Regions from separate parts of the Homo sapiens genome. Here region 2 is linked to region 1. The links are contacts of gene promoters, found by promoter capture Hi-C in blood cells and fetal thymus (Javierre and others, 2016). All regions are on one chromosome and are shown on one strand. The core of a region is centred on a gene start or on the middle of the fragment in contact, and the rest is flanking DNA. Distances in the headings are between cores, read along the strand shown. Region 1 holds the start of OR4K5 (olfactory receptor family 4 subfamily K member 5). Region 2 has its middle 3.3 kb from the start of OR4K2.

Evidence for each region. Contacts are between HindIII fragments. The CHiCAGO score rates a contact against its expected background, and 5 or more counts as called.
Region 2: a contact is called between a fragment that was not itself captured here and the fragment with the promoter of OR4K5 in region 1, in 3 of 17 cell types (neutrophils, fetal thymus and naive B cells). The highest score is 7.9, in neutrophils.

The regions. Positions count from the first base shown.
Region 1 is chr14:19,918,778-19,924,298 of GRCh38, forward strand. OR4K5 (olfactory receptor family 4 subfamily K member 5) reads left to right here and starts at 1,830. Exons shown (of 1, transcript NM_001005483.1): 1 at 1,830-2,801. The coding sequence starts at 1,830. The coding sequence ends at 2,801. The region is part of intron 2 of LOC124903278 (a long non-coding RNA gene); the gene reads right to left. It also overlaps a transcript of OR4K1 not described here. The HindIII fragment of the contact is 8,373 bases long and covers 1-3,378 here.
Region 2 is chr14:19,869,132-19,874,478 of GRCh38, forward strand. It overlaps the pseudogene OR4K3. Among named protein-coding and RNA genes, the nearest start is that of OR4K2, 3.3 kb to the right of the region's middle. The HindIII fragment of the contact is 5,805 bases long and covers 443-5,347 here.

The DNA.
Region 1 (5,521 bases), core at 580-3,079:
TATCTAGCAGCGTCTGAACAAATGCAAGCTCTCTTTGCCCTTCATTTGTAAATTTTAAAATTATGATTCATCATTCACTATATTTAAATCTGCCTCAATTTTTAGCTTAATACATTACATTCATACAATAAACATTTTCGTTAGGTAGAGTTAATCATTTTATGTAATAAATACATGAACTTGAGCAAGGACACTTTTATTTTAGAAATGGGGGAACAAAATGAGTCACACATGGCATAAAGTGATTACATCATATTTCAGAATCCTCTTAGTTATTGCCTTCTTGTATATTATAGACACTGATTTGTTGTTACTAATGCTTTAAACAATTATAATGAGTCATCTTTTTGTTTGCCGTAGTTCCAGAGTTTACAATAATGTATATCCAAAATGTGGCCCAGTGGAATGCTTCTCTGAACCTTCTTCCAATAGAGTACACAATATGATTGTTTACTGTGGGGCTTCCCGGTGTGGATTGCAACTGCATTCATCTAAATGAGAGACTAGGTCTGTAGCCTAGAGACAAAGGAAAGACTCTGGCTTCTTGTATGAAATAAATTAGCAGAAAAAGATGTTCATGTTCTCACATGGGACTAGAATTAGATCATTACTCTCTCAGGCCTCTTACTATGACTGTTGTCAACAGTTAATTGTCAGAACTAATATGGTTTCCTAAAACAGCACTTCTTTAAAGTTTTTCCAGTTCAACTGAACTAGATTTATACAGTAGGGGTATGTCTTTACAGGGTGAAAAACATACGATGCAAATTTTTAGATATTTTCAAGAGCATGAGAGGTTTATAATCATTTTTACTTCTCTATCCAGAAATTTTTTTTAAACTTCATTTTCCAGCATTAATTATAAAGATGTTTTAAGAAGATCATGGAGAACTCTAGCAGGGAGAATGTAAGTGGGCTGAAATCTAATTCTGATAGGCAAAGAAAATGAAAAATTTAGGTTCCACTCTTGGATAATCAACAGAAAATAGGATTTAGATAATTCAGGTAAGCCATAATATGTGTTTTAAGAAATTATTGGATAACTAATTGACAAACTCAGTTGGAACTATAGGCCAGTATAATATACATTCAATAGTATCTGTTTAGCAGGAATTGCCTAATTGTAAATGACTCCTGCAGGAGCACGAAGGTAAATTTCTATTAATATAGGGTGTTTAATGTATTAAGATCATATGTTGCAATACAATTACTTTGATGGTAGAATGTCATGAGTTATTCTGCTTAAACTCTAAAGTTTTCTGTAAAGTAGGTATTTTTATACCTCCCATCTTTTTTAAGGTGTGGAATTAAAGCTCAGATAAAATAATTGGCCAAAAGTTAATCTGTGTGACTTTACATCATGTAATAATAATCAAGCCATGAATATCTCTTCAAAAGTTAAGAATGTTGTATAATTGATGATGTAAGATGACCACAAGACAAGCAAATGTAAACACTTTTTGTCAACCTATGAGGCTTGTGGAGCTGGACTCTAGGTCACTCCTCTAGTCTTGTTGTCATGAGTCAGCTCCTGGGTAAGCTCATTTCCTACTGTATAAAAGACAAGGACTATCCAAAAACTCAAGGGGTTCTAATTATACTGATTAAATTATTAAGCATTATTTAGACATTTACATAAGTTCTTTCCTATTATCCACCTATCCAGACATACTATTATGGCCTCTTCAAAATTTTTGCATTCAGCAAATGCACATTATATCTGAGATCTCAGAATCCCTCACCTTAAAAGTATTCTTAATTCAAATTCTGATTCCTTTCTATTTATCCTCCTTTAGAGTTGTTTCAGAACAAGTTTGCAGCTTGGAACCATGGATAAGTCCAATTCTTCAGTGGTGTCTGAATTTGTACTGTTGGGACTCTGTAGTTCTCAAAAACTCCAGCTTTTCTATTTTTGTTTCTTCTCTGTGTTGTATACAGTCATTGTGCTGGGAAATCTTCTCATTATCCTCACAGTGACTTCTGATACCAGCCTGCACTCCCCTATGTACTTTCTCTTGGGAAACCTTTCCTTTGTTGACATTTGTCAGGCTTCTTTTGCTACCCCTAAAATGATTGCAGATTTTCTGAGTGCACACGAGACCATATCTTTCAGTGGCTGCATAGCCCAAATTTTCTTTATTCACCTTTTTACTGGAGGGGAGATGGTGCTACTTGTTTCGATGGCCTATGACAGGTATGTAGCCATATGCAAACCCTTATACTATGTGGTCATCATGAGCCGAAGGACATGCACTGTCTTGGTAATGATCTCCTGGGCTGTGAGCTTGGTGCACACATTAAGCCAGTTATCATTTACTGTGAACCTGCCTTTTTGTGGACCTAATGTAGTAGACAGCTTTTTTTGTGATCTTCCTCGAGTCACCAAACTTGCCTGCCTGGACTCTTACATCATTGAAATACTAATTGTGGTCAATAGTGGAATTCTTTCCCTAAGCACTTTCTCTCTCTTGGTCAGCTCCTACATCATTATTCTTGTTACAGTTTGGCTCAAGTCTTCAGCTGCAATGGCAAAGGCATTTTCTACGCTGGCTTCCCATATTGCAGTAGTAATATTATTCTTTGGACCTTGCATCTTCATCTATGTGTGGCCCTTTACCATCTCTCCTTTGGATAAATTTCTTGCCATATTTTACACTGTTTTCACCCCCGTCCTAAACCCCATTATTTATACACTAAGGAATAGGGATATGAAGGCTGCCGTAAGGAAAATTGTGAACCATTACCTGAGGCCAAGGAGAATTTCTGAAATGTCACTAGTAGTGAGAACTTCCTTTCATTAAGACAAAACTCCTTCAAATTCCTCAGGTCAATACACTGTTTAATATTTTAATGTATTTTTGTGGTGTATCTCAATTGTGGGGAAAGTAGTGAAGAAGATAATATAGAGAACATTTAATGAATATTAACAAGTCTTTTTCTAGGTATCAAGTGAAAGTTAAATATAAAAACATGGAAAAATCTCTGTTTAGATTACTGGTTCTAGAAATAAAATATGGGCACTAGATGGATAATATGTATGCATTTACTGCTTTTGTTACGGGGTAAATGTAAATATCAAGAAAAAAATCAATGAGAACCTAATTCTCTGGTGGGCATACATTCAAACATTTGTCAGGTTTTAAGAGTTTTCTTAACAACATGCCTAAAACTTCTATGTGGATGAATAGTATTTAAGAATCTGAAACTGAATTTTGCCAACTTCAGGGAATAGCCAAACTACAATTTAATATAACTGCTTAAGTTCAAGTGGAGATTATTAGGTTATGAGACTCCCCCCCCCAAAAATCAATTATGCCTATCCCATACGGTTTTCAAATAGCTAAAATGCTTTAAAATATGGAATGATACATACTCAGAAGCTTCCATTTTAAACCTTTCATTTAAAGGGCTGCCTCTGATTGGCTAGATAATTCCAATTTCCTTTTAGATTATGAGTTGCAGAAAAGAGAGGAGAATCTAGAAAGCTGAACTATTTCAACACCAAGATTTTCGTTTGTGCCACTTCTCTTCTTGTTCCTACAGTGCAGCTGCCAGTGGCTTATGTTCAGGCACCCAGTGGTACTCATCCTCCAGCAAGTTTTATTGCCAGCCTTGGCCTTAAATTCTCTGATCCCCATCTTCACTTCACCTTCTGTGGACTAGATCTGGTCCAGTGCAACCCAGAGAACCTCTCTCCATCTAGGGGGCCTCACTCATATTCTCTCCAAAGAGTTCTGAAACTCAACCTTGGGCAGGGCATCACCCTTCCACATTTATTTCTTCTTTGGTTTCTCTCCTTTAGGCCTATGGTATTTTTTTTTTTCAAAGTAAACTGAAGACGATTCAGATTCAGATTTAATCAGTTTTTACATGTACTCTTTTTTTTTTTACTATTGCTTTATAGTATTATGAAATATCATTGCATAAATAGATTCATGTAGTCACAACAGCCACAATAAGGACATAGACCTCTTCCGTCACTTCAAAGAAACTTTCCTGTGCTGTCTCCCCTGTGATCTTAACCCTGGCAACCAATGATCTGTTCCCCATCACTCTATTTTATTTTTTCATTTCAAGAGTGTTGTAAAATTTATCAGCTGTTCAAATGGCCTTTGTAATAATTTTTAGAAAATTTAATGTGGTTGGATTTGTGAATCATTTTTGGTATCTTTTTTTGTGTGTATGTGTCTGATTTAAGAAATCCTTCTCTCTGTCAAGATCATAAAGACATTATTTAGATTTTCTTCTGTAAATTAAAACATATATTGCTTTTTATACTTAAGAATTTCATCGCTTTGTAACTCATTTTGTACATTTTGGGAGCTAGGCATCTATTTTTATATATTTGTAAATATGTAGAAATCAGACTTGGTGTCATTTATTTAATTGTTCATTATTTCCCTCAATTTGCAATACTACCTCTCTTACATTTTCAGCTTCAGTGTATGTATGGATTTGTTACTAGACTCTATTCTGTTTCGTTAATGCATGTGTTTAGCCCTGCACCCATATTACGCTGTTTTAATTTACTACAGTTTTAAAATAAATCTTGATGTCTGATAGATTAAGTTCTCTCATCTCTTATTTTTCAGTGTCTTTGTTAGTTTATCCCCTTTATGTTCTATAAACATTTTACAACCAGCTCGTCAGATTTCTTAAAATATTATTTCAGGATTTTGTTGTAATTGCATTGGATTCATGTGTTAATTGACATACAAAGATATTTATTATATTCATTGTATATAACATATTTATTAACTTATAGAGAATGACATCTTTTACAAATAAATGTTGAAAAAGAAAAAATATGTCAACAAAAAATTACAATTATTTATGTAAAAAATGTAACTTGCAAAACAACAAATACTCTAAGCTTATGTACAAATTTAAAGATGTGCATTTAGAGAAAATTATAAAATTTAACAAAAGGTAGTAATGAAGAGTGTATTAGTAAATCAAACTTAAATAAGTGAAGATAGACACTATATTAATAAATAGAAAAACAGTATGGTAAAAGATGTCAGTTCTCTCTTAGGGTATTTTTTTAGAGTTACTTTTTATTCTCCTTGTAGTAGCTAATTCCTATTACCAGTTGCTAATTCTTTATATTAAGTATTCTCTGTTCAAATTACTCATGTGGGTTCTGTCTCCTGACTAGACTCTGACAGATACAGATACTTTTAAGTATTTTGAAGGTATCGAAAAATCAGAAGCATCTCATCAAATATGTTAATGAGAGAAATCAGGAGCCAGTTGAATAAAAAAAAGTCAGTAGCTTCATCTATTTATGCACTAAAGTGAAATTCATCTATGACATGCTTGAAAATATAAAAAATGATAGGGCTGGGTGCGGTGGCTCACGCCTGTAATCCTAGCACTTTGGGAGGCCGAAGTGGGCGGATAACCTGAGGTCAGGAATTCAAGACCAGCCTGACCAACATAGAGAAAACCCCTCTCTACTAAAAATACAAAATTAGCCGGGCATGGTGGCACATGCCTATAGTCCCAGCTACTCGGGAGG
Region 2 (5,347 bases), core at 2,095-4,594, 48 kb before region 1:
GCTCCAGGCCATTTGCTCTGATTTCTGGAAGGACTCTAGCATTTCCAGTTGGGAGGAGAACTAGGAAAAAATATAGCAATCAAACTCAAAGTGGGATTTTTGCACAGACTAATTTAGTGGCAGCCTACCATCAGATAGTTCCCTATTGTCTCTTTTCCAGACTCACAGTGGCCAAAAATTTTTCCCAATGGCCTTCCTAGATATTTCAAATGATTCAATTACATATTATTTTTTATGACTTAGCAATTTGTTTTACAAGTAAAATACAAATATTCATAAAAGAAGTAAAAATTAATGGTTTCAAATATTTACTCCTCAGTTTGTGAAATACTTTTTAAATTTCACAGCTTGCTGACAGCAGCCTTTTGTAAGAAAAGGGAGTAAAAACCTTTTTCAAACATCATGAAGGGTGAAAGACGGAGGAGGAATATTTGAGGATCAAAGCTTATTATTAGTGGGAAGGATATGGGCACTGGTCTCTTGCAGTGGCTAGGAAAAAGGAATCAAACATGAGGGAAGGAGGATGGCTACAGAGAAACATCATCTGTTTCAATTTTCCAGTGGAGATTGTCTAGAATAAAAGTGAAATGGCTGGGCTCGGTGGCTCACACCTGTAATCCCAGCACTTTGGGAGGTCGAGGTGTGCAGATCACGAGGTCAGTAGTTCGAGACGAGCCTGACCAACATGGCGAAACCCTGTCTCTACTAAAAATACAAAAATTAGCTGGGCAGGGTGACATGCGCCTGTAATCCCAGCTACTCAGGAGGCTGAGGTAGGAGAATCGCTTGAACCCGGGAGGCAGAGGATGCAGTGAGCCAAGATCGTGCCACTGCACTCCAGCCTGGTGACAGAGTGAGACTCTGCCTCAAAAAAAAAAAAAAAAAAAAAAGTGAAATCACCTCTAATTATTTGTCCTTTATTTTAGTTATGCAGATATTATGAATGACACTTGATGTATGTCACCAATGCCATACATTTTTCAGAGGCTAATGAACATGTTCTGGTTAAAGCCTGAAGTACTCATACATTTCTAAGTACATTTTAAATAGAAAGACTGTTAAATACCATGCTGCCAGAAGCCAGGCAATTTTTAAATGCTAGAAATTATTGATTTCACAGAAGCTGTTTGAAACAAAAAACACTCTTCCTGTTTCCAGAGTTTACATGGAGCAACTGTTGAGACAAGTTTACATCAGACAGAAGAGAGTAATGAATTTATAAGTTATGTAATATAACGCACCTCAAAAGTTGTAACTTGGCTGATTAAGGAAATCTCTGTCTCACTGAGATCTGAGATTTACAAAGTGCACTGAAAGCCAATTGAAATGATGTGTACTCAAAATTCATAACAAAACTTTTTCATCTTTCTACTAATCCAAGCATTTGTTTTTCTTTTCTTCTCAAACCTCTGTTACAACTATATATTCTAAACAAATTGTTCTAAGACCAAACCCAATTTACTCATTCAACTACCTATTGTTCTTTCGCTTTCTATTAAAAATGCTGTGGCCTTTGAAAAACAAATAAACAAAAAACCTTCACATTGTTCTTCTAGCTTTACCCATCCCAGAAACTTTTAAATTTCTTTTGTACTCACCTACCTGATTTTTAAATAGAAGTCTCTAGCACAGCACTCATTTAAATTGGTGTACCAGAAATAACAGTGACCTGAGAGTCAGAAAATGGGAATTGAAATCTTGTCCTAGGAGTGTGGGATCAAGTAATTTACTGAGTCAACCGATGCTTCCAAGTCTTCATATGTAAAATAGGGGTGTTGATCTAGATAATTTTAAGATCCTTTCCACACATGTAATATAATAACCAACTCCTGAAAGCAGGGACAACTGCGTCACAGTGAAGTTAGGTGAATCCCTTGCCTAATTTCTGGGGAAAGGAGGCTCACAGTCCTTGAGACCTTTGTATTTATGACAGTTGTATTGATATGAAATAATTTTGTGAATTACATGGCAAGAAAAAGACCAGCTGCTGCTTGGGGAATAAACAAATGTTCAAGTTGCAGTGGGAGTTATTAAAACTTTCTAGTTGGTTTGGCCATATTTAAAGGTGAATTACAGAATGCATGATTGCTCGTAAATGTTTCATGTACAGGACATGGATGTGATTGGCTGGGAAAATATAAAGAATAACGCGTATCTTGGACCACAGCAAAGACAAGACAAATAGTATCTATTATTTGACTTATGAGACTACAAGTGTTATCTCCCAGTTCCTCCATTAACAAATGAGTATAAGGCCTGTGTATCCCCATTTGGAAAAAAACTGATACAGAAAATAATAAAATGAATGTTCGAGAATTTAAATTTTGTACTATTCACTTGAATCATTATGGAGTAATGGAAGAAAAAAGTGAAAAGTGAAAAAATTCTGGTTTATAAATTCTAACTATGTAAAGAATGTGAAGTAATCATCAAAATTTTAATATCTGCTAAAAATCAGAATAACAATCAATAAAATTTAAATGCCACCCATACTTAAATATTTCTCTATTAACAAGAAAGTTTTGACTATATTTCACAGAGCTTGTATTCATAAGATGAAAAGAAATAACTTGATGAAACTGCATTATATGCCTCTAGTGTAATATAAAGAACATTGAATCTCAGATTTGGAGGCCTGAGTTTACATCACAGTACAAGACTTTATTATATTATACTGAGTACATCACCACATTATCATAAATCTCAATCTCCTCATTTGCACTGAGAGATAAAAAAACAAAGCACTGGTATATCAGTACATAAAAAGCTATTAAATTAGACAATAAAAAGACCAAGAACCCTGCATAAAATGGGAAAAAAGCGCAAATAGCTATTTTCTATAGAAAAGATGCTCAAACTCTTTTTTATATGAACATATGTTGAAATTCATTGAGATACCACATATCAACTATCATATGGTAAATGTTTCTATCAGGCAGCAAAATTCTAGCAGCTTGAACACCTGCTCTAGATGACACTACAGTGAGGTAATGCCAGAAGGAATATAAAATAATAAAATCCCATGGAGGAACATTTAAATATATTAAATATACACATATATATTTAAATAGGTATATATATGTGTGTGTGTGTGTGTGTATATATATATAAATACACATATATATACCTATCTATATATATACACATATATATACCTATTTATATATATATACATATATATACCTATTTATATATATATACACATATATATACCTATTTATATATATATACACATATATATACCTATTTATATATATATACACATATATATACCTATTTATATATATATACACATATATATACCTATTTATATATATATACACATATATATACCTATTTATATATATATATACACATATATATACCTATTTATATATATATACACATATATATACCTATTTATATATATATATACACATATATATACCTATTTATATATATATACACATATATATACCTATTTATATATATATACACATATATATACCTATTTATATATATATACACATATATATACCTATTTATATATATATACACATATATATACCTATTTTTATATATATACACATATATATACCTATTTATATATATATATATATATATATATTTACCTCTAAGGAGAGGGAGATGATAGGGGACAATAGGATTGACATGTTGGAATGTCAGGGATAAAATCAAAACATCTCTGATTTTATCTACATTGTTAGTTTTGACTTAGGTTAAGAAATAGAGTTCAACTTAGAAAGCAGAGCTACCATGCACTGTAGGATAAGGCATTTACCATAGGAATTAGACCTTAAACAATTCTGGAAGGACTTAGGAAAGCAAAGACATGAAACAGGGAGCTGCAGAATCAGAGGCAGCAATAGCCAGTCAATCGAGAAACCAAGCCCATCTAGCCAATGAAGTAGAGGTCATGAAAGGAGCAAAATTTAGAAAATTTTGCTGGTAGAAAAATTTTTGTTCAGTTGCTGCTTCTGAGGATCTGCAGGCAGGCAGCCTGAGGCTTCTGTTGATCCTCCAATTCAGAAGTTGGGAAAAAGGTGGACGCAGAGTGAAGTGGCTGAGAACAAAACAAGCTAGAAGCTGTTGGCACCTCTGCATCTGTATAGCCACAAAGATCAGAGAGTAATGGCTGGTGCTTTGGGCTGCTTTTCAAATTCCAAACACATTTATTTTTAGACAACTCCAATACGGAAAGACGTGTAGAAAAGAATTCTGGGAACTGTAGTTCTCAGCTTAACCACTTTGACAATAGAAAGATGTAAGGTGCCACTCTCCGGTCTGTAGGAAAGACTCATGCACTTGCATTATTTACCTGGGAGCTCCGCTGGTACTGGAACTTTCAGAACGGATTTCCTAACATATCTTGTGCCTCACCTGGAGTGTATCAGATGGCTAGGGTCTGGCTGGTACTCCATATTTACATATAATATCTCATCATTCTGTATTCCTCCCGTGTGTGTGTGTGTGTGTGTGTGTGTGTGTGTGCGCGCGCGCGCGCGCGCACATGTGTGTCTATCTCTCAATGTTTCTTTGTATTTATTCTATTTATCCTAAGACCCTGATGAGTTAAAAAATAAAATATATAAACAGTGCTGGAGTCACGCATTGACTTTTAAAACTTCTGCTCATGTGTGGCATATGATACTTCTAGTCACATTACATTGAACAAAGTCATGTATCCAAGGTTCTGGTAGATAAAGTGAGGGTTATACTCCTTCCACAGCATGTGAAGGTCCCTGAAGGGATGAGCCATATACAAAAAGGTAATCAATTTTGATTTTCTAAAATTCAGTCGGCTGGGTATGGTGGCTCACTGTTCATCCCAGCACTTTGCGAGGTGGAGGTGGGCTGATCACTTGAGGTCAGGAGTTCGAGACCAGCCTGGCCAACACGGTGAAACCCCGCCTCTACTGAAAATATAATTAGCAGGGCATGGTGGCACATGCCTGTAATCTCAGCTACTCTGGAGGCTGAGACAGGAGAATCGCTTCAACCAGGTGGCGGAGGTTGCTGTGAGCCAAGATTGTACCATTGCACTCCTGGCTGGGTGACAAGAGTGAAACTCTGTCTGAAAAAAAAAAAAAATTCAGTCTACTACATAGACTGCACAGGAGAATAATCATATTATTAGTATTCAATAAATAAAAATATTCATAATGACAGTTACTTGGATGTCTCATTTAATTAATTACAATCACATTCACATTTCTGGTAACTTAGTCAAAATTATCTCCTTATATCCATTTCATTAAATGATCTGTATTAAATTTCTCCCTTCTCCAAACTATCTAAATAAATGCTTACATAATACTGCTTTCAAATAATCATAATTCTGCCCCTG